Regions from separate parts of the Homo sapiens genome. Here region 1 is linked to region 2. Evidence: promoter capture Hi-C in 16 types of primary human blood cells and fetal thymus (Javierre and others, 2016). All regions are on one chromosome and are shown on one strand. The core of a region is centred on a gene start or on the middle of the fragment in contact, and the rest is flanking DNA. Distances in the headings are between cores, read along the strand shown. Region 1 overlaps PDPR (pyruvate dehydrogenase phosphatase regulatory subunit). Region 2 holds the start of MLKL (mixed lineage kinase domain like pseudokinase).

Region 1 (4,553 bases), core at 293-2,792, 4.5 Mb before region 2:
GACTCTTGTGAATGGGTGACTGGACTTGGCTTTACAGAGTTGGGTGCTTTTTTCTCTCTGCAATTACCTGTCATAGCATTTTGTGCTCACCACGAAGGATGGTCTCTGCCTTCTCTTGTCGGTGTATGCCATCTGAACCTAGGAACACAAAGTATATTGGCCTCAAACGGAGACCCAGGGTTGCCAGTTTTCCGTGGGCCTTCCCCTCCCTTGAAATGTCTTTAATTACCTCCCCTTCATCGTCAGGCCACGTGTGACTTCTGTTCTTAGCACTGCCAGGGTCATTGACTTCCATCTAAGCTTGCATCAGGAAGATGTTCCTTCTGTGATCATTGGTACTGAAGCCAGAAAAGCTCTCATTCAGGAACTCTGAAGAGCAAAAAGGGACAAACACTAACTGCTGAGCTGGGCCATTTGATCTCCTTTCACCTTGCATTGCTGTCACAGCACCTTGTATGATGGCAGGACAGGCTCCAGCAGAGAGAACTGCACAGTGACCACTGTATTTTTCACGCTCTTCCAGGGATCCCTGTCCCCCGACATTGAAGAGATCTCATTCAGGCCAGAGACACAGAGACCACATAGCCCAGTGATTAAACCCCGGTTTCACTCTGGCCCCAGGAGTGGAGCCTGGCCACTCCTGTTTGGTTCTCACTGGGAGGCCCACTGGCCTTGGATCATCTCCTCATGCACACCCGGAGTTTTACCTGCTTGCTTGCTTTCCTGGACTGCTGTTTGCAAGAAAGTAACTAAAACATGAAAAGTAAACCTCCAGCTTCCACAGTATATTACCTGCCGTTGCATGCATTTGAAAGTTAGCCTCCTCCCTTGCCACCGTCTTGGTGGCAGTAGCGATGCAAGAATGATGGGAGCTTTCCGAGAGCGTTCAGTGTTTCACTGAAGACAGGACCCATAGCCTTCATTTCTGGCTCTGTGTCTCCTCTGGCATATGGACACATTTCCTGGCATTTGCCTGAGTCTACACCACTTTTTGAGAACCTGAAATAGAAGGGAATCTTCTGTGGCCCACAGTCTCCATATTGGCACTAGAAGACTGGCCTGGCGGAGGAATTTGCGTTGGCTTGCTTTCAGGGGTTAGCTACAAGATTCAGCTTTATATCTCTGTTGCTTCTTGGCCAGTGTAGTCAATAAGGGTCTTCTTTAACATCTAAGATAGAGGTTTGGTTGGCCGGGCGTGGTCGCTTACTCCTGTAATCCCAGCACTTTGGGAGGCCCAGTGAGGTGGGAGAATTGCTTGAACCCAGGAGGCAGAGGTTGCAGTGAGCTGAGATTGCACCACTGCACTCCAGCCTGGGTAACAGAGTGAGACTCTTGTCTCAAAAAAAAAAAAAAAAAAATCTAAGATAGAGGTTTGGTCAACAGTGCTTAATAATAAATAAGAACCTCCTGCCATTCTAATTTTCCTGCTGCACCCCATCCCCCACACACCCCTCACGAACATTGATATAAGCAGTATTAACACAGTATAAAGAATGTTCACCTTGCATATGTCATTTCAGGCACATGGATTCAGGAGAAGCACAGTTGAGTGGAAGAAATGGTAGACTTGTGAGGCTTGCCCCAGGCCTTGTGTACACGCAATAAGTGGTGAGCCATGGGTCTCTCCGTCAGCGCCTCCCTCCCCGCCACCACTTCAGGCCAACAATTTAAGGTGCTGAGTTGTAAGGCTCCTCCATTGTCAGTACAGGGCTCGCCTTTGTAGCCCTGATCACTACCAGTACACTTTTCAAGACAACTGAGTATTTTTGTATGCCTTTGCCTTCCCTTTGTCCATGAAACATGAAGAGTTGTTTATGGTTCTTGACTTCTCTGAGCAGAGTGTCTGCATCTCTTGGAGAGTTACACATTTCTTCATGAGCCATTTTTCTCATTCTTAGATGCACCTGTTTTTATCCTTTGCAGACCATCTTCTGCCTTCTTATTTTCCTGTCTGTCAAAGACAGAAATTACAGGAGATAGGGAGGGTTTTTTAGCATCTCTTTCAAAAGATGTATGTCAGAATTTCCTTTGCACACCAAGAACTGGAGCTTAGAGCCCCACTATTCTCTAAGCCAGGTTCTAGTGCCTTACACTCCAGAATGTCAGATGGTGGGTGCAGATTGGAAGAAAGAGAAAAGTTCATCTCGGTGTGTGGGTTCCCATCCGCCCCACATAGCCTCTCCTTCTTCGGAACAATGGGCGTGGGGTAGAAAGCTCTTTCAGTGAAGGGTGTTCTAGCAGCTCAGTTAACACTTTACTCTCCAGTCAACACTTGGGACATATAAAAATGCCATTGTAACTACTGTAGAGTCCTGTGACTCATCGTTTGTGTTTGTCAATTTGCAGTTCAGCTTAGCCCTTCCCTGTTCCTGTGTAGTTACAATCTGGCCCTGAAGACATCCGAGGCACTTCAGTAAGTGGGATCTTTTCTAGAGATCCTGGGTGACTTTGGGTGCACAGGGTGACCGAGCATTTCTGCCCCTGTGAATGTGGCACTAACACTGTGCACTGTCTCCACCAAGCAAGGTTTCCACTGAGTTTCTTCTCATGTTACTGGGTTTGTAAATGAATAAACACATTTTAACTACTCTTGCACGGCTGCTTGTGAAATGTTCTTCATCTGTAGTGACTTAAATGTGTTTGCCACCACAAAGCATAAACAGCGTGCAGAGGAGAGTGTGTACCTCCCTGTGTGTACCAGTGTGAGGGAGGATTTGGGGACGGGGGTAGAGAAGATGTAGGTGTTTATCTTACCCTCCCTGCAGCGCTGGAGTGGCTGGGGGTAAAAGCTTCCCGCCTCCTGAAATTCCGACCGGCCTTCTGCCTACAGCTGACCTCAGGAGGAACCTGCCACCTGATGTTCCACACGGGCACGTGTGCACTCAGGTTTGTGTGGAAAGCAAGGGGGGTCGTGTTCTCACCCTGTGGAAACAACCCTGAGAGAAACAACCAGTGCTCTTTTTCTACACCAGCTTCCATCCACAAGTTGGTCCCTGGACTTGACCTGTTCACTAATTTTTTTTTTTGAGGCAGAGTCTTGCTCTTTTGCCCAGGCTGGAGTACAGTGGTGTGATCTTGGCTTACTGCAACCTCCACTCCCAGGTTCAAGTGATTTCCTGCCTTAGCCTCCAGAGTAGCTGGGATTACAGGCACGCGCCACCATGCCCAGCTAATTTTTGTATTTTCGTAGAGACGGGGTTTCGCCAGGTTGGCCAGGCTGGTCTCAAACCCCCAACCTCAAGTGATCCACCCACCTTGGCCTCCCAAAGTGCTGGGATTACAGGCGTGAGCCACTGTGCCTGGCCCAAAGTAATTTTTGAGTAGTTTTTTTTTTTTTAAGTATTTGTACTTTTGAGAATCTCATAGGTTAACATGTTTACAACAATCTCTTCATCTTGTCTTCTAAATCAGCCCCTTCTATTCCAGTTCCAGGAATAGTCAACCACGCCAGAAACCTGGGACTCACCTGGTCTCCCCACTCGCCTCTCCCTACACCTCCCGCTCATTACCCAGCCTCACAGGGCTGTCTCCTCAGTGCCTCTCCTCTGTTCGGACCTCACTGTCCCCACCACTGCTGCTGTGGCAGAGAGGGTTGTCAGCCCTGACTTCGAGAACAATCTCTTACTGATTTTCCTGCTTCTCATGTCATCCCCCCTCCCTCTGCAGGGTTGTCTTTGTAAAACAGGGGAGGTCAATTTACTCACTGCCTTGAAACCCTCAAGGGACTCCCCTTTGTCGTGAGACAAAGCTCTCAGTCCTTAGCCTGGCCAGCCAGGGTCTCCAGGGTGTGGCAGGCCACGCTGCCCCAGGGCTCCGGCCTGCGCTGCGTGTGATGTGGGTCCTGCAGCCGAGTGCGTGCTCGCCATCCACAGCTGGATCTCACCTCGAATCCTGCTTTCCAGTCACACTGAGAGGTCTCCCACTCCCATATTTGCTCACTAAAATGCCTCCTGGCAGCCCTCCCCTGTGCTTGTGGAAAGTCGCAAATTGAGGATCACATGGACCCCCACTCCCCCAAGTTGTCCTGACAGAGACCTCCTGTCTTTCATTTGATTGATTGATTGAGACGGAGTTTTGTTCTTCTTGCTTAGGCTGCTGGAGTGCAGTGGCGAGATCTCGGCTCACCACAACCTCCGCCTCCCAGGTTCAAGCAATTCTGCCTCAGCCTCCTGAGTAGCTGGGATAACAGGCATGCGCCACCATGCCTGGCTAATTTTGTATTTTTAGTAGAGACGAGGTTTCACTATGGTGGTCATTGGTCAGGCTGGTCTCGAACTCCTGACCTCAGGTGATCAACCCACCTCAGCCTCCCAAAGTGCTGGGATTACAGGTGTGAGCCACAGTGCCTGGCCCCTCCTGTCTTTCAAAAGCTCTGCCCAAGACCACCATCATCCCACAGTGGAGCCTTTCCTTCCCCAAGAGAATGGCCCCTTTGGGGTCCTCACACACCCGTTTCTGATGTGTCTTTATTTGGTTATCTGCCCTGCTCCTTCTGTAAGTCCCTCGGAGAAAGACTCGAATTCTCCCAAACTCCAACACCTCACATGGTGTTT
Region 2 (4,843 bases), core at 827-3,326:
TTCAAATAATAAATTATACAGTGGTGGCATGGTATGAAGAAAATTGCAGCGGTCACATTGGCTCATGCCTGTAATCTCAGCGCTTTGGAAGGCCGAGGCAGGTGGATCACCTGAGGTCGGGAGTTTGAGATCGCCCGGCCAACATGGTGAAACCCCATCTCTACTAAAAATACTAAAATTAGCCAAGCATGGTAGCAGGCGCCTGTAATCCCAGCTACTCGGGAGGCTGAGGCAGGAGAATTGCTTGAACCCGGGAGGTGGAGGTTGCACTGAGCCGAGATCACACCACTGTGCTCCAACCTGGGCAACAGAGCAAAACTCCGTCTCAAAAACAAAAACAAAAACAAAAAAAAAGAAAGAAAGAAAATTGCACAAAACAAAGCTTGAAGAAAGGAGGAAAGAGAAGTGTTATATTTCTGGCTGGGAAGACTAAAACAGACCAACCCAGCAATCCTTCCCAAATTTAAATCCAATTTAATGCAGTTCCAATAAAACATCTACTGACATATTTTGGCATTAAATCAAAATGATCCTAAAGTTCATTTGAAATGGGAAATTAGTAGGGATAACCAGGATTTTAAAAAATAAAGAAAAGGGGACTTGCCTGTATGAAATTAAAATATATTAAAAACTGCAAAATATTGGGAAAAAGCACCCTACAATAACTTAAATTGTTTAAGGTCTTATTAAGTATATGATCTACAAGGGAAGAAAGGGAATATACATATATACACACTTAGACTGGGCAATTTGAATTTCTAGGAACTTATGATGTAGAAAAGCTTGTGTTTGTAGATAGATGGCTACCGAGATGTTCACTGCAGTGCTATTTATAATATGTAAAACAAACAGCTAAGAATATGTTCAGGCCAGCTGCAGTGGCTCACACCTGTAATCCCAGCACTTTGGGAGGGTGAGGTAGGAGGATCACCTGAGCCCAGGAGTTTGAGACCAGCCTGGGTGACAAAGCGAGACCCTGGCTCTACCAAAAAATACAAAAAAAATTTAATTGGGTGTGGTGATGTGCACCTTGTAGTCCTAGCTACTTGGGAGGATCTGGTTGGAGGATCACTTGAGCCCATGAGTTCGGAGGCTGCAGTGAGCTATGATTGTGCCACTGCGCTCCAGCCTGGGCAACAGAGGAAGACTCCATCTCTCAAAATAAATAAATAAAAAGAAAAAGGGGATTATGTTCATATGTTACGATGAGAAAACAGGTTACTAATTTTAAAAGTGAAAAATCTTTAAATGGTAATAACAATGCAAATTCACCTCTTCCCTCCAAAAAATAAAAAATAAAAATAAAATAAAATAAGTAAAGGTTATCAGGCATTTCCCTCTTCTCTCTCTCTCACTCTGTCTCTCTCTCACGCCTTCAGCCTGCAAACCTGAAGACTTCCTTTTTCTGAGAAGACATCAGGTAACTTGTTCCCGTGCCCCTGCCCTCCACGACCCCCACTGCTACTGGGCGTCTCGCTTTGGCGGAAGGTAGTGCGAGATCCGAGCAGGCAGCTCCACCATCAGAGCTGAGGAAATGAAACCAACTCGGTCCTGAGTTCCAGGAACTCGGACCGGGCCACCCTCACCCCTGGTTCTTCCCATCACCGTCCAGGAATTCGGCTGCAGCCCCTCGGCCCCGCCGCCTCCTGGGAAGACCCCATGCTCACCTTCGCGCCTCCCGAGGGGTGTGCGTCCAATCTGTCCCGTGCACAGTTCCAAAAAGCTCGCTCTTCCACCTTCTTTCCCACGACCGCCTCCTGCCCAGGCGAGAAGTTTGCAAACGCGAGGCCCGCGGGAGTTCCCCTGCGCCCCCTTTCCTGGTGCCCGCACCCTGCACTCTGCTGACTGTACCGGACGCCACACGTGGCTGGCGGCGACAAGGCGCCCCGATCCCTACCTGAGGGAAACCCCGGCCACTGCAGCTGCACTTGAGCAGGGTCCCTCCACTCAGCCACTTGGATGGCTGTTTCTGTCCAGTGCCCTCCGGAGGCCACTGCCTCAGGTCTGTGATGCCTGCAGAGAATGCTGCGACACTTCCCCCTCCGACGTGGCTCCAGCTGCCAACCACCAGGCTCACGGTGCCCTGGCTCCCTGGAGCCGCTTTCTAGGCAGCTCGGAGCCACGGCCCCTCCCTTCCTTCCTCCTGTCCTTTCCACACTCTTCCTGCCTTCCCCAAAGTCACTGGGTAACTACGCTGTACACGTCAGTACCAAGCCTTCTTTAGGGGCTGGGGATTCAGAATAGAATAAGGTCCCAGCAACTATTATAACCAGGACACAGTATGAGAAGGACTGGAAGTTTAGAGAAAAACTGAAAGTTGGAGAGAAGCTTCTGGTGTTTGCTTCTCTGTGCTGGATAATATTGGCGGGGTGGGGAGGGTACGAGGGAAGAGACACCAAAGTGGGAAAAAAGTCACTTCCTCTTCTAAGGTCATTGCAGAACATCCTGTTACAGTGTGAGTCAGGTTTTCTTAAGATTAACTACATCTTCAGCTAGAAAGTCTAAGTAGTGTTATGCATTTACTCAACAGACTATTTGCCTCTAAAAGAACAGAACTGGGAGCTGGGTGTGGTGGCTCATGCCTGTAATTCCAGCACTTTGGGAGGCGGAGGTGGCCAGATCACCTGAGGTCAGGAGTTCAAGACCATCCTGGCCAACATGGGGAAACCCTGTCTCTACTAAAAATACAAAAATTAGCCAGGCGTGGTGGTGCATGCCTGTAATCCCAGCTACTCGGGAGCCTGAGAGGGGAGAATCGCTTGAAGCCGGCCTTGGAGATTCATTTCTTCGCCTTGCTATTGTTCTTCGTCTCCTGCATCATCAGTTTTCTTCCTGTCTTAGGTGAAGAGATTGAGGTGAGGCAGGAGAATAGGGTCTGCAGGCAGGGAACATAAAGCTGATTCACGCTGACTTCTTAGAACTAAATAAAATGGACACATTTCAGCTATGACAGGAAATATTTTCTTCATTTACATATGGCGTTCACTGAGTAAGTGACTGAGCAACTTCACTTCATCTTCTTCATTTACATAGGGTGTACACCAATTAACCAATGGGAGCCTCTAGAGGGTATTTAAATCCCAGAAAATTCTGTAACGGAGTTCTTGAGCCCCTATGCTCACGCTGGCTCCCACCCTGTGGAGTGTACCTTTGTTTTCAATACATCTCTGCTTTTGTTGCCTCATTCTTTCCTTGCTTTGTGCATTTTGCCCATTTCTTTGTTCAAGATGCCAAGAACCTGGACACCTTCAACAAGTAACACAGGTGCCTGTGATTTATTGAAGGAAGACTCTTAGGAGAGTGGTGGGTATGATAGGGCAGAGGAAGAAAAAGTGAAACAAGTATGTAGTCAGTGGAGGCTCCATGGGGAGGTCTGGAATGTGAAGGTCTGGAACAAGAGGCAGCCTCCTTTCTGCCCAGGGCAATTCTTCTGGACGAGGGGGAAGCTGTGTGAGTGTTTAGCTGTCAACACTCATAGCAGCTGCAGGATGGGTATACTGATCTGCTATAAACAAAATCATACAATGTATAACCTTTTGGAAGTTTTTTTCTTTTCTTTTCTTTTTTTTTTTTTTTACTGTCCCACCATCAATGTACAAGACATTCAGTTTCTCTGCATCCTCAGCAGCATTTTATTTTGTCCCTGCCTGAATTTTTAGCTATTCTAACAGGTGAATAGTGATATATCATCATGGTTTTTTGTTTTGTTTTGTTTTGAGATAGAGTCTTACTCTGTTGCCCAGGCTGGAGTGCAGTGGCGCCATCTCAGCTCACTGCAACCTCCACCTCCTGGGTTCAAGCGATTCTCCAGCCTCAGCCTCCCAAGTAGCTGGGACTACAGGCGTGCACCACCACACCTGTCTATTTTTTGTATTTTTAGTAGAGACAGCGTTTCGCCATATTGGCCAGACTGGTCTCGAACTCCTGACCTCAGGTGATCCACCCACCTTGGCCTCCCAAAGTGCTGGGATTATAGGCATGAGCCACTGCGCCTGGTCTCATCATGGTTTTAATTGGCATTTCTTTAGTGCCTGGTGATGATGGACATGTTTTCATGTGCTTGTTTGCCATCTGTATAGCCTCATTGGTGAAATGTCTGTCCATGTCTTTTGCCCATTTTTAGTTGAATTCTTTTTAAAAAACTTGAGTTTTGAGAGTTTAAATATTCTAGATATTAATCCTTTGCCAGATAGGTGGTGTTCAAATGGTGGTGGAGTAACTGAACAAAAAAATGAACTTCACCTAAACCTCATATTCTATGCAAAAATTGCCTGAATGGATCAGAGATTTAAATGTAAAATGTAAAACAAGGAACCTTTTAGAAGAAAGCAGAGAGAACTGTGCAGAATGAAAGGACATTTCCTGTTGAGAAAATGTAAATGTTTGAAAAAAGTTTAGGGCCGGTCGCAGTGGCTCACGCCTGTAATCCCAGCACTTTGGGAGGCCGAGGTGGGCGGATCACGAGGTCAGGAGATTAAGACCATCCTGGCTAACACGGTGAAACCCCATCTCTACTAAAAATACAAAAAAAAATTAGCCGGATGTGGTGGCGGGTGCCTGTAGTCCCAGCTACTCGGGAGGCTGAGGCAGGAGAACGATGTGAACCCAGGAGGCGGAGCTTGCAGTGAGCCGAGATCGCGCCATTGCACACCAGCCTGGGTGGCAGAGTGAGACTCCGTCTCAAAAAAAAAAAAAAAAAAAAAGAAAAGAAAAAAGTTTAAATGAGCCCTTTAAAATGTTTTTATTTTTAGTAGAGACAGAGGTCTCCCTGTGTTGCTGAGGCTGATCTTGAACTTCTGAACTCAAGCAATCCTCATGCCTTGGCCCCCCAAAGTGTTGGGAT

What was found. Contacts are between HindIII fragments. The CHiCAGO score rates a contact against its expected background, and 5 or more counts as called.
Region 1: a fragment that was not itself captured here is called in contact with the fragment with the promoter of MLKL in region 2 in 2 of 17 cell types (total CD4 T cells and naive CD8 T cells); the score reaches 8.1 in total CD4 T cells.

The regions. Positions count from the first base shown.
Region 1 is chr16:70,159,943-70,164,495 of GRCh38, forward strand. It overlaps PDPR (pyruvate dehydrogenase phosphatase regulatory subunit), which reads left to right. Exons shown (of 19, transcript NM_017990.5): 19 at 1-2,595. The region is part of intron 1 of LOC400541 (a long non-coding RNA gene); the gene reads right to left. Among named protein-coding and RNA genes, the nearest start is that of CLEC18C, 12 kb to the right of the region's middle. The HindIII fragment of the contact is 2,489 bases long and covers 299-2,787 here.
Region 2 is chr16:74,698,786-74,703,628 of GRCh38, forward strand. MLKL (mixed lineage kinase domain like pseudokinase) reads right to left here and starts at 2,077. Exons shown (of 11, transcript NM_152649.4): 1 at 1,668-2,077. RefSeq lists an enhancer at 1,531-1,980. The HindIII fragment of the contact is 1,546 bases long and covers 781-2,326 here.